Linked DNA regions of Homo sapiens: all the other regions are linked to region 3. Evidence: promoter capture Hi-C in 16 types of primary human blood cells and fetal thymus (Javierre and others, 2016). All regions are on one chromosome and are shown on one strand. The core of a region is centred on a gene start or on the middle of the fragment in contact, and the rest is flanking DNA. Distances in the headings are between cores, read along the strand shown. Region 1 holds the start of DIPK1C (divergent protein kinase domain 1C). Region 2 has its middle 20 kb from the start of TIMM21. Region 3 holds the start of C18orf63 (chromosome 18 open reading frame 63). Region 4 overlaps CNDP2 (carnosine dipeptidase 2). Region 5 has its middle 19 kb from the start of CNDP2.

Region 1 (2,700 bases), core at 85-2,584, 140 kb after region 3:
TTGTGGTCCCACATTTTGAAAATCTACAATCTCAAAAGGCCCACCCATATGTAAGCAACTGGACTGAAAACTTCCCATGTGTTTCTTGAAGATTTTTTAGAAAATAGATCTCTTTTCAAACCAAATGCTTAGATGGTCACTATTTTAGGAAATGAATAATCGCTTAAGAAGTCATGTAAGAGTAGCTGCTACTATCTTCCCCTTTCTGGGATTTAGGGGACTCCCACCTTTACTGAAGTCTCCTTTGCGCCTGAAAGAACGGCTAGCCAAGTTTCCAATCAACTAAAGGTGGGCGTTTCATTCATATGATGTGAGCCCAGCGTACGCAGCAGTCTGCAAAATGCGAAATGTTTCTTTCTCTCCCTAATTCTCTGGCTCAGCTGAGGAGCTGCTGGGTGCGAGCTTTCGGGCCCTCCCAGGTTAGGAGGCGCCTGTCGAGGACCGGGACCCGGGATCCTCCCGGTCCCAGCCGCCTCCGCAGCGCTCTCTGCTCGCCCGAGCGCACACTGCGTCGGTTCCCACAGACCGCGACCGCGGAGAGCCTGGGCTCTGGAGCGCAGGGGGGCCGGGGTCAGACCAGCCCTCCGCATGGGCTCGGTGAGATAGGGGGTGACCTGGCAGCTCAGGGTGGAATCACAGAACGCGGGCTGGGCTGGAGCGCTGCGGACCCGAGAGACAGAGGCGTGGCACCCCGGATCCCGAACCCCGCACTGGCTTGCGCCCCGAGCCCGGCGGCCTGACACCGGACGCGGCACCTCCCTGGACACTCGGATCAGACCCGCAAACTTTCTTCCGGAGCTCGGGCTCAGGGGTGGCGAGGGTAGGACGGAGAGGCTGTCTGGGGACAAAGGGCGAATTCTGGCGAAAAGGGGAGAGACACCCCCAGCGCGCCCACAGAGCACTGCCGGCTGCGTCCCCATTCGGGGGACCGGGGCGTGCGCCTCTGGCACTCCACGCAGGTGTCGGGAACCCATGTCCCCGGCGGGTGCCACCGCCACCCAAGTCCCCGGGAAGGCTGGGGACCGGGAGCGGGTGTGATCCCCCCTCCCCGGACGCGCGGCGCGGGGCAGAGCGGCGGCGGGACCTACCAGCGCGGCCAGGATGCGCCGGCTCTTCTCGTCGGTGCAGCGCTCGGAGAGGACACCCGGGTGCGCGCGGAGCAGCAGCGCGGCCGCCAGCACCCAGCCCGCGGTCCACGCGGCGAAGGCGAGGAGCGTGCCCCGCCCGCAGCGCCCGCGCCTCCTGCACCACCCGGCAGGGCCCCGCGCGCCCGCCGCCCGCGCCATGGCCAGCCCTGCCCGCGCCCGGGCCCCACCGCCGCCCGCGCCCCGAGTTCCGCACTCGCGTAGCTGCTCCGCGGCTCAGGCCCGCTCGGCGGGGAGGGGGAACGGGGGAGGGGCCGCGCGAGGGTTGGGGCAGGCCCCGCGCCTGGGGCGGAGGTGCGGGGAGGGCGTCCAGCAGCAGCAACACCCCGCGCGCCCCGAGCACCCACTGGGGGTCCACTCGCCGCATCCCCTGCTCCACCCTCTCTACTTTTCTTTTTGCACTTTTTTCCCCCAAGAAGACCAGCTCCCCACTTAAACGAAATCCGGGTAGATTCAATCGCCTCTCTCTTTGGGGACTGATTCCTCAAGACTACATATCTTTAATTGTCACATTGCCCTCCCCCACCAACTTCTCTGAGAGGCCAGGTGCCCTTGCCCCCAGCGCTCTGTAGAGCGCACCCTCGCCCCAGGGGGCTGCAGCGTTGTCCCCCCCCGTTTACCTCTCCACTAGAACCGCCCCCCTCTGAGTCTCACCCCAACTTGGGTTTTCTCCGGGCCCTCCCGGGAGTGAGATCCGGAGCATGCAGAGAGTCGGGGGTCGAGGACAGTCAGTAGGTTCTGGGACGACCCAGCCCTCCCCTTCCCACGGGCACCCCTGAATCAAACCCCCCGCCGTCTCCCAGGCTGCACAAACTCTCGGGCGTCCTTCTCAGGGCTGCAAAGATCTGCTCTCTGGAAACATCTCCGTTACCCCGGGGAGGAGAACACGTCCACCACGTGTGTCTAAGTCTATATTTATAGATTCGCAGTATCATCTGGGAGAGCAGGCATCCGTGTTCCCATCCCAATTGTTCTGTAAAGCAGGCTGGCCCTGGGCCCACAGGGCGTCCCTGGTTCTCACCAGCATCCCCCACCCCACCCAGGGATGCTTCTCACTCCCTGAACGCCTTTCCCCAGGATAGGGGGAGGCGGCGCCACCCCAGGGGAACTGTCACAGCTGAGGGGCTGTGAAAGCCGCCACGCCCGGGGCTCCTGCATTCACTGAACAAAAGCTTATTCAGTGCCCAGTACGTGCCAGCCCATCCCGGATCGCTCTCCCGCCTGCCCTGCGCCTGAATTTCACATGACCCGTTCCCGAGTTTAGAGATAATAGAAACATGCCCTGATCACTGCGTGCTGTGATTGTCCCACAGGAGCTGGCTTCTTGCCCTTGTCTCTTCTGCAACTCGCTGCTTTAACTTTGTTTTATGGCTGGCTCGGTGGTAGGAGTCCCCAGGAATGACCAAACATCAGATGAACAAACCCTGAGCCCCAAGAAGCACTTCGGGCACATCACAAATATGCCCCGAATGCAACAGACCCTTGGGGTTTGGGTGTCACTCAATCAACAGCAGGGTTTGGGTGTCACTCAATCAACAGCGGTAAGGCCAGGTGA
Region 2 (2,700 bases), core at 73-2,572, 150 kb before region 3:
GAAAGGAAGAAGGAAGAAACAAGGACAGAACCATGGAAAGAAGAGAGGGGAAAGCTAAGGGTAGCAGAGGCTGATGCCTCCTGTTACAGACTGAACTATGTCTCCCTCTGGCCTCCAAAACCCCTGTGATGAAACCTCCCAACCCCAGCACCTCTGAATGTAGCTGAATTTGAGGATAGGGCTTTTAAAGGGGTGATTAAGTTATAATGAGGGTGGAGGGCCCTCATCCAATTTGATTTGTCCTTATAATGAAAGGAAATCTGGGCACACAGAGACACCAGGGAGGCATTTGCACAGAGGAAGTAGCATGTGAGGACACTGCAAGAAGGTGGACATCTGCAAGCCGAGGAGAGATCTCAGGAGAAACCCACCCTGCTGACACCTTGATCTTGGACTTTCAGCCTCCAGGACTGTGGGAAAATAAACGTCTGTTGTTTAATCCCCCAAGCCAGTGGTATTCTGTTATGGCAGCTAACTTTAAGAAGTTGTAAGTGATTGTAGCAGCGTGACTTCCAGCCGTGCATTGTAAGAAACCCTGTGGCGTCGCATCCTGCCCTACCCTGTGACTGTCAGTCTTGTTCATATTTGCCAGCCACATGGTGTAAAAGGGGTCTCTTGGTGGTCTTGACTCCCATTCACTAATCATTAATGAACATTTTTATGTGGTTTACGTGTTCCTTCTTCTGGACAAATGCCTGTTCATGTCTTTTGCATGTGCTTTTATTGGTATTTTTCTGTTTTCTTTGTGTTTGTTTATTTGTTTGTTTTTGTTTTTTTGAGACCAAGTCTCACTCTGTTGCCCAGGCTGGAGGTGCAGTGGCATGATCTGGGCTCACTACAACCTCCTCCTCCCAGGCTCAAACGATTCTCCTGCCTCTGCCTCCCAAGTAGCTGGGATTACAGGTGCCCACTACCACTCCCTGATAATTTTTGTATTTTTAGTAGAGACAGGGTTTCACCATATTAGCCAGGCTGGTCTCAAACTCCTGACCTCAAGTGATCCACCTGCCTTGGCCTCCCAAAGTGTTGGAATTACAGGCATGAGCCACCATGCCTGGCCTCTATTTTCTTATTAATTTGTAAGAAGGTTTTTATATATTTGATAGTAATATTCCATTGGTTGTGTGCATAAAAGACTATCTCCAAGTTTTAAACTTGCTATTTTGCTTTATATATGATATCTTTGGATGATCAAATGTTTTTAACGATAATAAAGTCAAGATCAAGTGTATCTTTTCTTTTAAAGTAAAAAGGTACTGTGTCTTATGTAGGTACTCTTTCTCAAGTTTTTGTGTAAGGAGTCTAAACCAAGATTGAAAGGATATTCATCTCCATTGTCTATTAACCATTTTAAGTTTTGTTTTTGATATTAAGTCATTAATTCATCTGGAGTTGATTATTTTTATTTTAAGAGTATGAAGTAGTGATCCAACTTTATGTTTTCCGTATGGATGACCATGCATTCCAGCTCCATTTACTGAACTGACATCTACGTCTGTCATACACCGAAATCCCATATGTGTACAGGTCTATTTTTTGGCTCTCTTTCATTCTATTGGTTAATTTTTGCTAATACCAATACTGCACTTATCTATTTACTACATAGCTTCATAGTAGATGCTGATACCTAGTAAGAGAAAGTCACTCTCCCTACTCTTCTTATTCAGAAATACTCTAGCTAATGTTAGCTCTTTACTTTAACATAATATTTAGCATTATTTTCATCAACATCCATGGGAAGCCCTTTCGGGATTTTCTATGGTCTCTCTATTTAATTTATTAAAAAATTGGGGAAGTAATATGTCTATAGGAATGATAATCAAATTTTCTAAAAATTATCGGCATTCCGAGGCTTGTGGCCACATCACCCCCGTCTCTGCCTCCATCTTTACATCATAATCTCCTCTGCACTTGTCTTCTCTTCTGTGTCTGTCTTACAAAAATACATGCCCTTGAATTTAGGGCCCACCCCTATAACCCAGGACTAATGCATCCTCTCAAAATCCTTAACTTAAGCACATATTTTACCATAGAAGATAATATCCGCAGGTTCCCAGATTGAAATGTGAACCCACCTTGTGGGAGACCACCCCTCAGGAGGCCACCAAAAGCATCTGCTACAGCAGTGTGTGGCCCGAGGTCATCTTACCATACACGCCTGGAACCAGGGATGTCTGATTTTCAAATCCTGAGTGTTTACACATCACCTAATGTTGCCTTTCATGTTTTTTTTGTTTTTTTACCTGCCTACATTTCAGTTTCCCCATCTCTTAAATGAGGACAATAATACCTACTTCTTAGGGATTTTGTAAGGACCATATGAGGCCATAGGGAAGGGGCTTCAGCAGTAGCTGGCACATGGTTACCCCGCAACTGTCGGTATGTTTCTTGCCTTCCTTTTACATTGTACATAGAGAAGGCATCATTTTAATTCCTGTATCTCCAGTTACTACAGTATTTGGATGTTAATAAGTTCTCAGAAAAAAAAAAATGTGTTAAATCTAAACCTTATAAGTACCTATAGTTCTAATACCCAAGCAATGCATTATTCAAAAAGTGACTGAGAAAGCTACCAAATTCCTGGAGTGCCAGCCATGAGAGATAGGAGGCTGCAAAAATTACGGATGTGTCCCGTTGCATACAAAAGTGGTCTTGCATAAGCAACATAAATCTAATGCCTCTAGAAGGCTGAATCACCAT
Region 3 (2,700 bases), core at 190-2,689:
CTTTTCTTCCTAAATGCACTCTCATGGAGATCCAATCTGGCCTCAGGTTTTAAATAGCATCTATTATATGCAGATCTTTCCCCAGAACTCTTATTGTTCCTCTTCATTTCTCAATGTCAACAAGTCCAAAACTGACATGAACCCTCCTGATCTTCAGCCCCAAACTTGCTCCTCTTAGTCTTCCCCTTTGTAATTAATGGCAACCCAATCCTTCTGAATTCTTAGTATAAAAACCTTGGAGTGATGCTTGATTCCTCTCCCTCTCTCTCAGATCCCACATCAATCCATATCCAAATCCTATTAAATCTAATTTCAAAATATATCCAGAATCCAATCCCATCCCATCCCATTCCCTCCACTGCCACTGCTCTGATCCAAGCCACCTCTCTCCTTATTGCCATTGCCTCCTAACTGCTTTTCTTCCTTTCCCTGTCCCCTTCAGTCCATTCCAGCACAGCAGGCTGGATGCACCTTTAATACTTCCATGGCTTATCGGGCCTAACCCTGTCTGGCTCTCTGTAACTCCTCCTGCCTCACGGAGCCACTTCTTTCCTGCTCTACTGCAGCCAGCTGGCGTCCCTCCTGCCCTGGCCTTTTGTAGGATTCCCTCTCTCGTAACAAACATTCTCCCCCGAGACATGCACGAGGCTGCCCACTCTCACCGCCTTCATGTCTTTCTCAAACGTCCCGTTCTCCACGAGGCCTTCCTGACCACGCTATTAAACCTAACGACTTCTCCTCGGCACTCCCCGCCTCCCTACCCTACTTAATTTTTCTCCAATGCACCTATCACCATCTGCCACACTAAGATTTTGCACATTTATCTTGCGTATCTGTTTTCCCCCAACTACCAAGTAAAATGTGCATCCCACAAGGACCGGGAATGCTGTTTGCTTAGTGCTCTATCAGCAGACCTTAGAAACGCATCTGCACACAGTAGGCGCTTCGTGGATTTACTCCCACGAGCTTGCACCACGCTTCCCCTCCACACCAGGCATGAAGATGTTCCAGTCATGGAGATTCCCACCACTAAAGGAACTGCAGAAGCTGTAAATTCGGGCATGAGAATCTGAGGAGAAACGTGCCGAGGCAAGAGGCTGGGTAGCCCCTGTGCAGCACGCAGTTAGCCGGGGCTTCAGCGCCGGAGCTCCCCGTTGGACGTGTTGCGCTGACCCAGCTTTCCCGCCTTCGAGGGCGGCCAGAACCTTGTGTCCCGGCCCCACCCACACCAGCTCAGGCTGAGAGAATCTCACAGGGCTTCACTGGGTCATCCGTGACCAGCTTTGGTCGGTTCCTGCCTTGGCGGGAAAAGTTGACCTACATTGCGTGCCAGGAGCGCAAGGCTTGCAGGGCATGCTGGGAGAGCGCAGGGAACGCTGGGAGAGCGCGGGAAATACTGGGATTGGCTCCCGAGGGCTGTGAGGAGGGCACGAGGGGACACTCCGATGAAGGCAGGGCACGCGGGGCGAGCCGGGAGCGTCTCCTGAGGGCAGCGAGGAGGGAGCTGAGGCACGCGGGCTCTCAATCGACGCCCCACAGAGACCAAGAGGCCTGGCCTTGGGGGGCAGCTGCTTGAAGGAGGCAGAGCGGAAGCGAGGGAGACTGCTGGAGGCCCTGCCGCCCACCCGCCCTTTCCTCCCCCTGAGGAGACGCCTGACGCATCTGCAGTGCAGGAGGCCGTGGGCGTTAGAAGTGTTGCTTTTCCAGTTTGTAAGACCATTTTCCTGATTCTCTTCCCCACGGTTGCGGAGGAGCAGGTCAGGGCCGCCATGAGGGCAGGATCCCGGTGCCGGCGCCGGCACCCTGAGGACGTTGGTTTGGGTCAGGAAAAAAATGTATTCATCTGCAAAGACCCATGAGTCCCAATTTTTCGGGCATTTCATTATATCGGAAATTTATAGAATCACCTTTTAAAATGGATTTAGCTGAACAAAGACCTTAGATTCGTTTCCACTCACGTCCATTACTGTTCTCACAGAAGCCAGGCCGGAAGAGGGGTGGGCGCTCGCCTGGGGGCAGCGGCAAGCCGGGTCTGGGGCCGCCCTGAACCCCGCGCCCCGGGAGGATTTTTAGGAAGGGTCCCTCGTAGCGGCGGTCCCGAGGCTTAGCGCACAGCACTGCAGGAGCTGGGCGCTCCCAGAGTTTTGGTCCTTTGGGGTTCTCTGAGTCCTCCCTCACGTGTAGAATTGCGTAGGTGCCTGTTGCCTGCTCCTAGCACTTGTTCCTTGCCCTGCTGGGGATTGGGAATAAAGATGAAATCCTGGGACAGAAACGTAGTGGAGCGACTCCCTGGACAGGATGTTAATAGCGCATCCGTAGATCATAATAAGGCTTGGCCCACGTTTTGAGCTTCACAATATAGTTCTACAGCCTAGCCAAAGAAAACAACATTCTTTTTGAATCTGCAAGTTTTGCCAACTAGGAACTCACAAAATTAAACAATAGTAATAATTCTAATAAATTCATGCTTATCCCTGAACAGATCACTCTTGTTTACATACAGTGTTGCAATCCGTGAGTATTTGAAGATTGGCAAAACGGGAGGACTTGCACCCAGGAATTTTTTGGTGACCTGGAATTTACATTCCTACTGTATTACATTCCTGCTGGCATTGCCAGCATTCCTCAGATGACACCACAAACTCATTTCAGTACTGTGATCAGAAGGCTGGTCACACTGCACATTCCCGGGCCAGTATA
Region 4 (2,700 bases), core at 155-2,654, 190 kb after region 3:
ACACTGCACACGCAGCCACACTGCCGCTGGGACAAATGAGGGGCGTCAGGCCATACACTGCACACGCAGCCACACTGCTGCTGGGACAAATGATGGGCGTCAGGCCATACACTGCACACGCAGCCACAGTGCCGCTGGGACAAATGAGGGGCGTCAGGCCACACGCCACACACGCAGCCACACTGCCGCTGGGACAAATGAGGGGCGTCAGGCCATACACTGCACACGCAGCCACACTGCCACTGGGACAAATGAGGGGCGTCAGGCCACACGCCACACACGCAGCCACAGTGCCGCTGGGACAAATGATGGGCGTCAGGCCATACACTGCACACGCAGCCACACTGCCACTGGGACAAATGAGGGGCGTCAGGCCATACACTGCACACGCAGCCACACTGCCGCTGGGACAAATGAGGGGCGTCAGGCCACACGCAGCACACTAGCAGCCTTCAGGTTGCAGGGGTTACTTAAATTACTGGGAACACAAATCCTGGATCCCATAAGAATCCCAGCCACCTGCCCAGTTTCGTAAAGTGCTTGTACACTTAGAGCTGGAGGCCCTGCAGTTTGGAAGGGACACTTTTCTCAGCCTATCACCAGCACTGTCCTGATCCAGTTGTCATTTCAGTGACTGCTCATTTTACCTCTTAATTGCAAACTGTTAATTTAACTTCATTATCAATTTAGTTTTTGCGTTGTGTCTGTTAATACCTATTTTCATGAACAGTATTTTCTAGCAACTAGACTAATATATATGTATGTCATGTTTTAGTATGAACAGTCTCTTCCTCCTACAGCTAAAAGCATCTCCTGCCACTTGCTTGTGACACTTTGTGATGATCATGGGGTATTTTCCTATTGGAATATAGGCACTGGTAGAGGAGCTACATGGCCACAGGAGTTTTGCACAGCCTGAGTAGGCCATAGTCTAAAGTAAAAGGTGGAGACCACTGACCTGATGTGAAAACTGGAAAAGACCTAAGATTGATTTGCCTCCATTTAGATGCAGGGGTGGGCTGGGATGCCTGTCCCATTCTCCATTCCTATGGGATTGTGGAATATTGGTAGTGCTTCTGGGACAAAGCTCAGAAGGCGTACCTGCTATCACTAACTTTTTAGAATGGCTAAATGTGAATTTAGGTATAAAGATTTTTTTATATATATCTTGGTTTATGGCATTTTCCATGCATAATTGTAATCAATGTACAGAATTTCAAAAATACCTCTTCTGATTTAAGATTATAGTTTATTTTAACCATCATTTCAGAAAATAATAAACTAAGTTGCATCCCGAACTCAGCCTGCGTGTTTTGTTATATAAAAGTCAAAGAAAAACCAGCCTTTAAGAATTTACCAAATCCAGCCAGGTGCAGTGGCTCATGCTTGTAATTCTAGCACTTTGGAAAGCCGAGGTGGGTGGTTTGCCTGAACTCAGGAATTCGAGACCACCGTGCGGGCAACAGTGAAACCCTGTCTCTACTAAAATACAAAAAATTAACCAGGCATGGTGGCCGGCACCTGTAATCCCAGCTACTTGGGCGGTTGAGACCTAAGAATCGCTTGAGCCTGGGAGGCAGAGGTTGCAATGAGCTGGGATCACGCCACTGCGCTCCAGCCTGGGTGACAGAGCAAGATTCTGTCTCAAAAAAAAAAAAAAAAAATTTACCAAACTGCCTGCAATTGGCAAACATGTACATGTGCTCTGGAGTACAAGAAAGTAAGAAAGTAAATCTTAATTAGTGACTCCATTGAACAGTGTGCTCTTAAACTCTACAATAGAGGTTGATTGATAAGGACAGATAAGGAAGCTCAAGGTCTTTTAATAATCTCCACCTTAAGCACTGAATTTCTTAAACAAAGGCTGTCCTTGGTTCCTTTCCTCTCCATGCTCAGCTCCCTGATGGCTCGGAGATCCCGCTCCCTCCTATTCTGCTCGGCAGGCTGGGCTCCGACCCACAGAAGAAGACCGTGTGCATTTACGGGCACCTGGATGTGCAGCCTGCAGCCCTGGAGGACGGCTGGGACAGCGAGCCCTTCACCCTGGTGGAGCGAGACGGTGAGCGCCGCGCGCCTATGCGTGCCCAGAGGAAAGGCACTGACTTTTGGAAAGTCATTGCTAGTCCGTTTTTCTGTTTCCAGTACAGACTGTTTTTATTTTATTTTATTTATTTTATTACTTTTTAAAAATCTTTTTTTGAGACAGAGTCTCACTCTGTAGCTCAGGCTGGAGGGCAATGGCAAGATCTCAATTCACTGCAACCTCCGCCTCCCGGGGTTCAAGCGATTCTCCTGCCTCAGCCTCCCCAGTAGCTGGGATTACGGGCGCCCATCACCACGCCTGGCTAGTTTTTTTATTTTTAGTAGAGACGGGGTTTCACCATGCTGGCCAGGCTGGTCTTGATCTCCTGACCTCAAGTGATCCCCCCCACCTCAGCCTCCCAAAGTGCTGGGATTACAGGCTTGAGCCACCACGCCGGGCACAGACTGTTTTTAACGTAAGCTAGAAATGGAGGTTTCTTACAGGTGCCTCTGTTGCTGAACTTCCAGAAAGCCTGCCTTTTCCTGTGCAAATGAGCCCCCCGTGGCTGGCGTCTGCCAGGCTTCCTCTACTGCTGATGCTTTTTCTCAGAATGCACATTTGGAATCCAGGCAGGGCCTTCCTGAAAAGCCTGTCCCCTTGTCCCCCTCCCCGGCCCT
Region 5 (2,700 bases), core at 64-2,563, 160 kb after region 3:
TACCTTATATGGCAAAGGAGTCTTTGCAGAGGTGATTAAGTGAAGGATCTTGAGATGGGAGACTATCCTGGATCATCTGGGTGGACCCAATACTGTAATCAGAAGATCCCTTAGAATAAAGGGAGGCCAAAAGGTCAAAGTCAGAAAAAGTAGGTGTGAGGATGCAGCCAGGGGTTGGGTGATGCACTTTGAAGATGGAAGGAGGGGCCACAGGCCCAGGAATCGCGGTGGCCTTCAGAAGCCGGAAGAAGCAAGGACATGGATCCTCCCCTGAAGCCTCAGGAAAGAACCAGCCCTGCCAATACCTGGATTTTAGGCTTCTGACCTGAAGATCTGTAAGAGAATGAATTCCTCCTGTTTTCAGTCACTAAGCTTATGTTAATTTGTTACAGTAGCTACAGGAAGCTAATACGGTATACACAACTTTTATTTGCCTTTTATTTGCCCAGAGGAAGGAAAGTTCTCCAGGCACTTTCAACATCTAGAGAGCATAATAATATACAGTTATGAGGCAAACACAGGTGCTAAATGCAAATGGATTTTCCAGTATCTCCTGTGGATTTTCAGCAGACTTAAAGGCGAGACTGGAACACTTCCAACATTCAGCTGAAATCCCACTGTGGGCTAATTTAAGGATGAGTTCCTCATGCCCATAAAGCCAAGCTCTGATTCATTTGTTTTTCTTTTCAGAAGCACAGTGAAAAGTGACACCTGAATTGTGAGTGACAACAACTGTTCACAGCTTGAAACCCTGAATAATAATCCATGACCAGGTTACCTGCCTGAATTCATGACTTAATTTTTCTTGCCCATGTTCATCCAATAGGAAACATGTGTTTTAAAGAGAAATAAAACTTTATTCAGGGTTCCCAGCAGCATTTAACAACTGAGCCCGTCTGTTCAGTAAAATCTTTAATTGGGAACTTCTCTTCAGTTGTACTGAGGGAATTTTTAAGCCACCAAATTGCAAGATAAGTTTATGTTAATATTTCTGCCGTAGTTCAGGCTGCTCTAAAAGAATGCCACAAACTAGGTGGCTTAAACAACAAACATTAATTTCTGAAAGTTCTGGGGACTGGAAGTCTGAGATCAGGGTGCCAGCGTGGCCTGGCTCTGGTGGGGACTCTTTTCCTGTTTTATGGATGGCCGCCTTCTTGTTGTATCTTCACCTGGTGAAGAGAGAGCGCTCTGATCTCTTCATCCCCTTATAGGGACACTAATTCCCTTCCTAAGAGCTCCACCTTCACAACCTAAGTACCTCCCAAAGATTCCACCTCCAAATACCATCACATTGGGGATTTAGGCTTCGCCGTATGAATTTTGGGAGGATACATACGTTCAGACTCTAGCAGTTACCCATATGTTTCCAGTCTTAGCCGACAGTGACTAAGAAGTAATGACACAGTTCCTCTCTACGCCCACGTTCTAGCCACGCAGCACTCCAGTCGGCTTAACATTATACATTTGCCCATCCCATAAGTCCCCCATAGTTCTGTGTCTCCAATGGGGTGGCTCAGGGCCTCACACTGACCCCAGGTCTCCTGGCCCTCCTGTCAGCTCCAGCACCTGAGGGCACCACCATCCCCTCTAGGCTGAGTTGGGTGCTCCCTATGCTTACAGCCCTGCAACATCAGAGTGCTGCTGGCCTGGGATGCAAGTAGGAGAGGGGCTGCCTCCCTAGCCTGGGGCCACACTGCATCCCAGAGCAGCGCCCTTGTGGTCAAGCGAATTCTGCCTGGGCCTGGTCCTCACACCCCTGGCCACAGGCCCCCAGCCCTGCCTGCAGCCTCAGCCCTTCCTGCTCCTGCCCCCACCTGCTCCTGCCCCCACCCACTCCTCCCCCCACCACTTCTGCCCCCGCCTGCTCCTGCCCCTTGACCCAACTCCCAACTCCAAGGCCTCACTGGACCCGCAGTTCTAAAAGAAGGAAAACCTTCCTTACACATCTCATAAACACACCGCAAAGGAGGAGTGATGGGGAGAAGAAACCCCACCGCCCATGCCCCAGCTGCCTCCCTGGCTCCTTCATGGGCCCAGAACCCCATGACCCATTACCCTGAGTGCACAGAAAGTTCCCTAGCTTCTTCCCAGACATCCCGTCCTAATGGCCCACCATGCTCCAGAAAGCAGGCCTGGATTTCAGACCTACCGGGCTTGGAGACACCCCAGCGGCTTGAGCATCTTGACACTCTTGCTGCACCACAGACCAGTCACCTAGACTTTCTGGGGCACTGGGGATATGGCTGTACTCTTTAAAGCTTCCCAAGAGATTGTCCATGGACCGAGATAATTCTCGAAGGTTATCAATATCCTAAGCTAAAAGCGGTAGTGGAACTGCTGACGCAGATGGTTTCTTAAATTTTATTTTGTCAAATTAAGTACAACGAAGAGCTAAACGGTTTTTGGAAATAGATATCATGACTTGAATCAGGAGATGGCAGAAGCCTCCAGAATGGGGCCCATGTGATATCCTGGGCAGTGATTTGCTGCAGCAGCTGGGACCCAGGTGCCTTAGCTGTCTTTGCCTGATGGTTCTGAGCAGCTCCACCCTCCTTAATTAGCCCAAGGCTGGAATCAGGCTTGTGCAACATGAAGGTTTTGCAATTTAGGGATTGCCCTAAGAAAAGGAACTCAAAACTACACGTAAAAGAATGAAGCACAAAAGTGAATGCTTATTTAGAAGGAGCCTTTGGGGAGGAG

The links. Contacts are between HindIII fragments. The CHiCAGO score rates a contact against its expected background, and 5 or more counts as called.
Region 1: a contact is called between the fragment with the promoter of DIPK1C here and the fragment with the promoter of C18orf63 in region 3, in 8 of 17 cell types (total CD4 T cells, naive CD4 T cells, non-activated CD4 T cells and 5 more). The highest score is 8.6, in total CD4 T cells.
Region 2: a contact is called between a fragment that was not itself captured here and the fragment with the promoter of C18orf63 in region 3, in 1 of 17 cell types (M2 macrophages). The highest score is 5.2, in M2 macrophages.
Region 4: a fragment that was not itself captured here is called in contact with the fragment with the promoter of C18orf63 in region 3 in 3 of 17 cell types (naive CD8 T cells, naive CD4 T cells and total CD8 T cells); the score reaches 6.7 in naive CD8 T cells.
Region 5: a contact is called between a fragment that was not itself captured here and the fragment with the promoter of C18orf63 in region 3, in 6 of 17 cell types (non-activated CD4 T cells, naive CD4 T cells, total CD8 T cells and 3 more). The highest score is 6.1, in non-activated CD4 T cells.

What each region holds. Positions count from the first base shown.
Region 1 is chr18:74,455,974-74,458,673 of GRCh38, forward strand. It overlaps DIPK1C (divergent protein kinase domain 1C), which reads right to left and starts at 1,335. Exons shown (of 4, transcript NM_001044369.3): 1 at 1,089-1,335. The coding sequence starts at 1,286. The HindIII fragment of the contact is 3,923 bases long and covers 1-2,315 here.
Region 2 is chr18:74,166,958-74,169,657 of GRCh38, forward strand. No RefSeq gene overlaps it. Among named protein-coding and RNA genes, the nearest start is that of TIMM21, 20 kb to the left of the region's middle. The HindIII fragment of the contact is 4,386 bases long and covers 1-2,700 here.
Region 3 is chr18:74,314,400-74,317,099 of GRCh38, forward strand. C18orf63 (chromosome 18 open reading frame 63) reads left to right here and starts at 1,440. Exons shown (of 14, transcript NM_001174123.2): 1 at 1,440-1,710. RefSeq lists an enhancer at 1,648-1,817. The HindIII fragment of the contact is 4,843 bases long and covers 1-2,700 here.
Region 4 is chr18:74,503,953-74,506,652 of GRCh38, forward strand. CNDP2 (carnosine dipeptidase 2) reads left to right here. Exons shown (of 12, transcript NM_018235.3): 4 at 1,897-2,059. Among named protein-coding and RNA genes, the nearest start is that of CNDP2, 8.9 kb to the left of the region's middle. The HindIII fragment of the contact is 5,160 bases long and covers 1-2,700 here.
Region 5 is chr18:74,476,505-74,479,204 of GRCh38, forward strand. No RefSeq gene overlaps it. Among named protein-coding and RNA genes, the nearest start is that of CNDP2, 19 kb to the right of the region's middle. The HindIII fragment of the contact is 1,886 bases long and covers 371-2,256 here.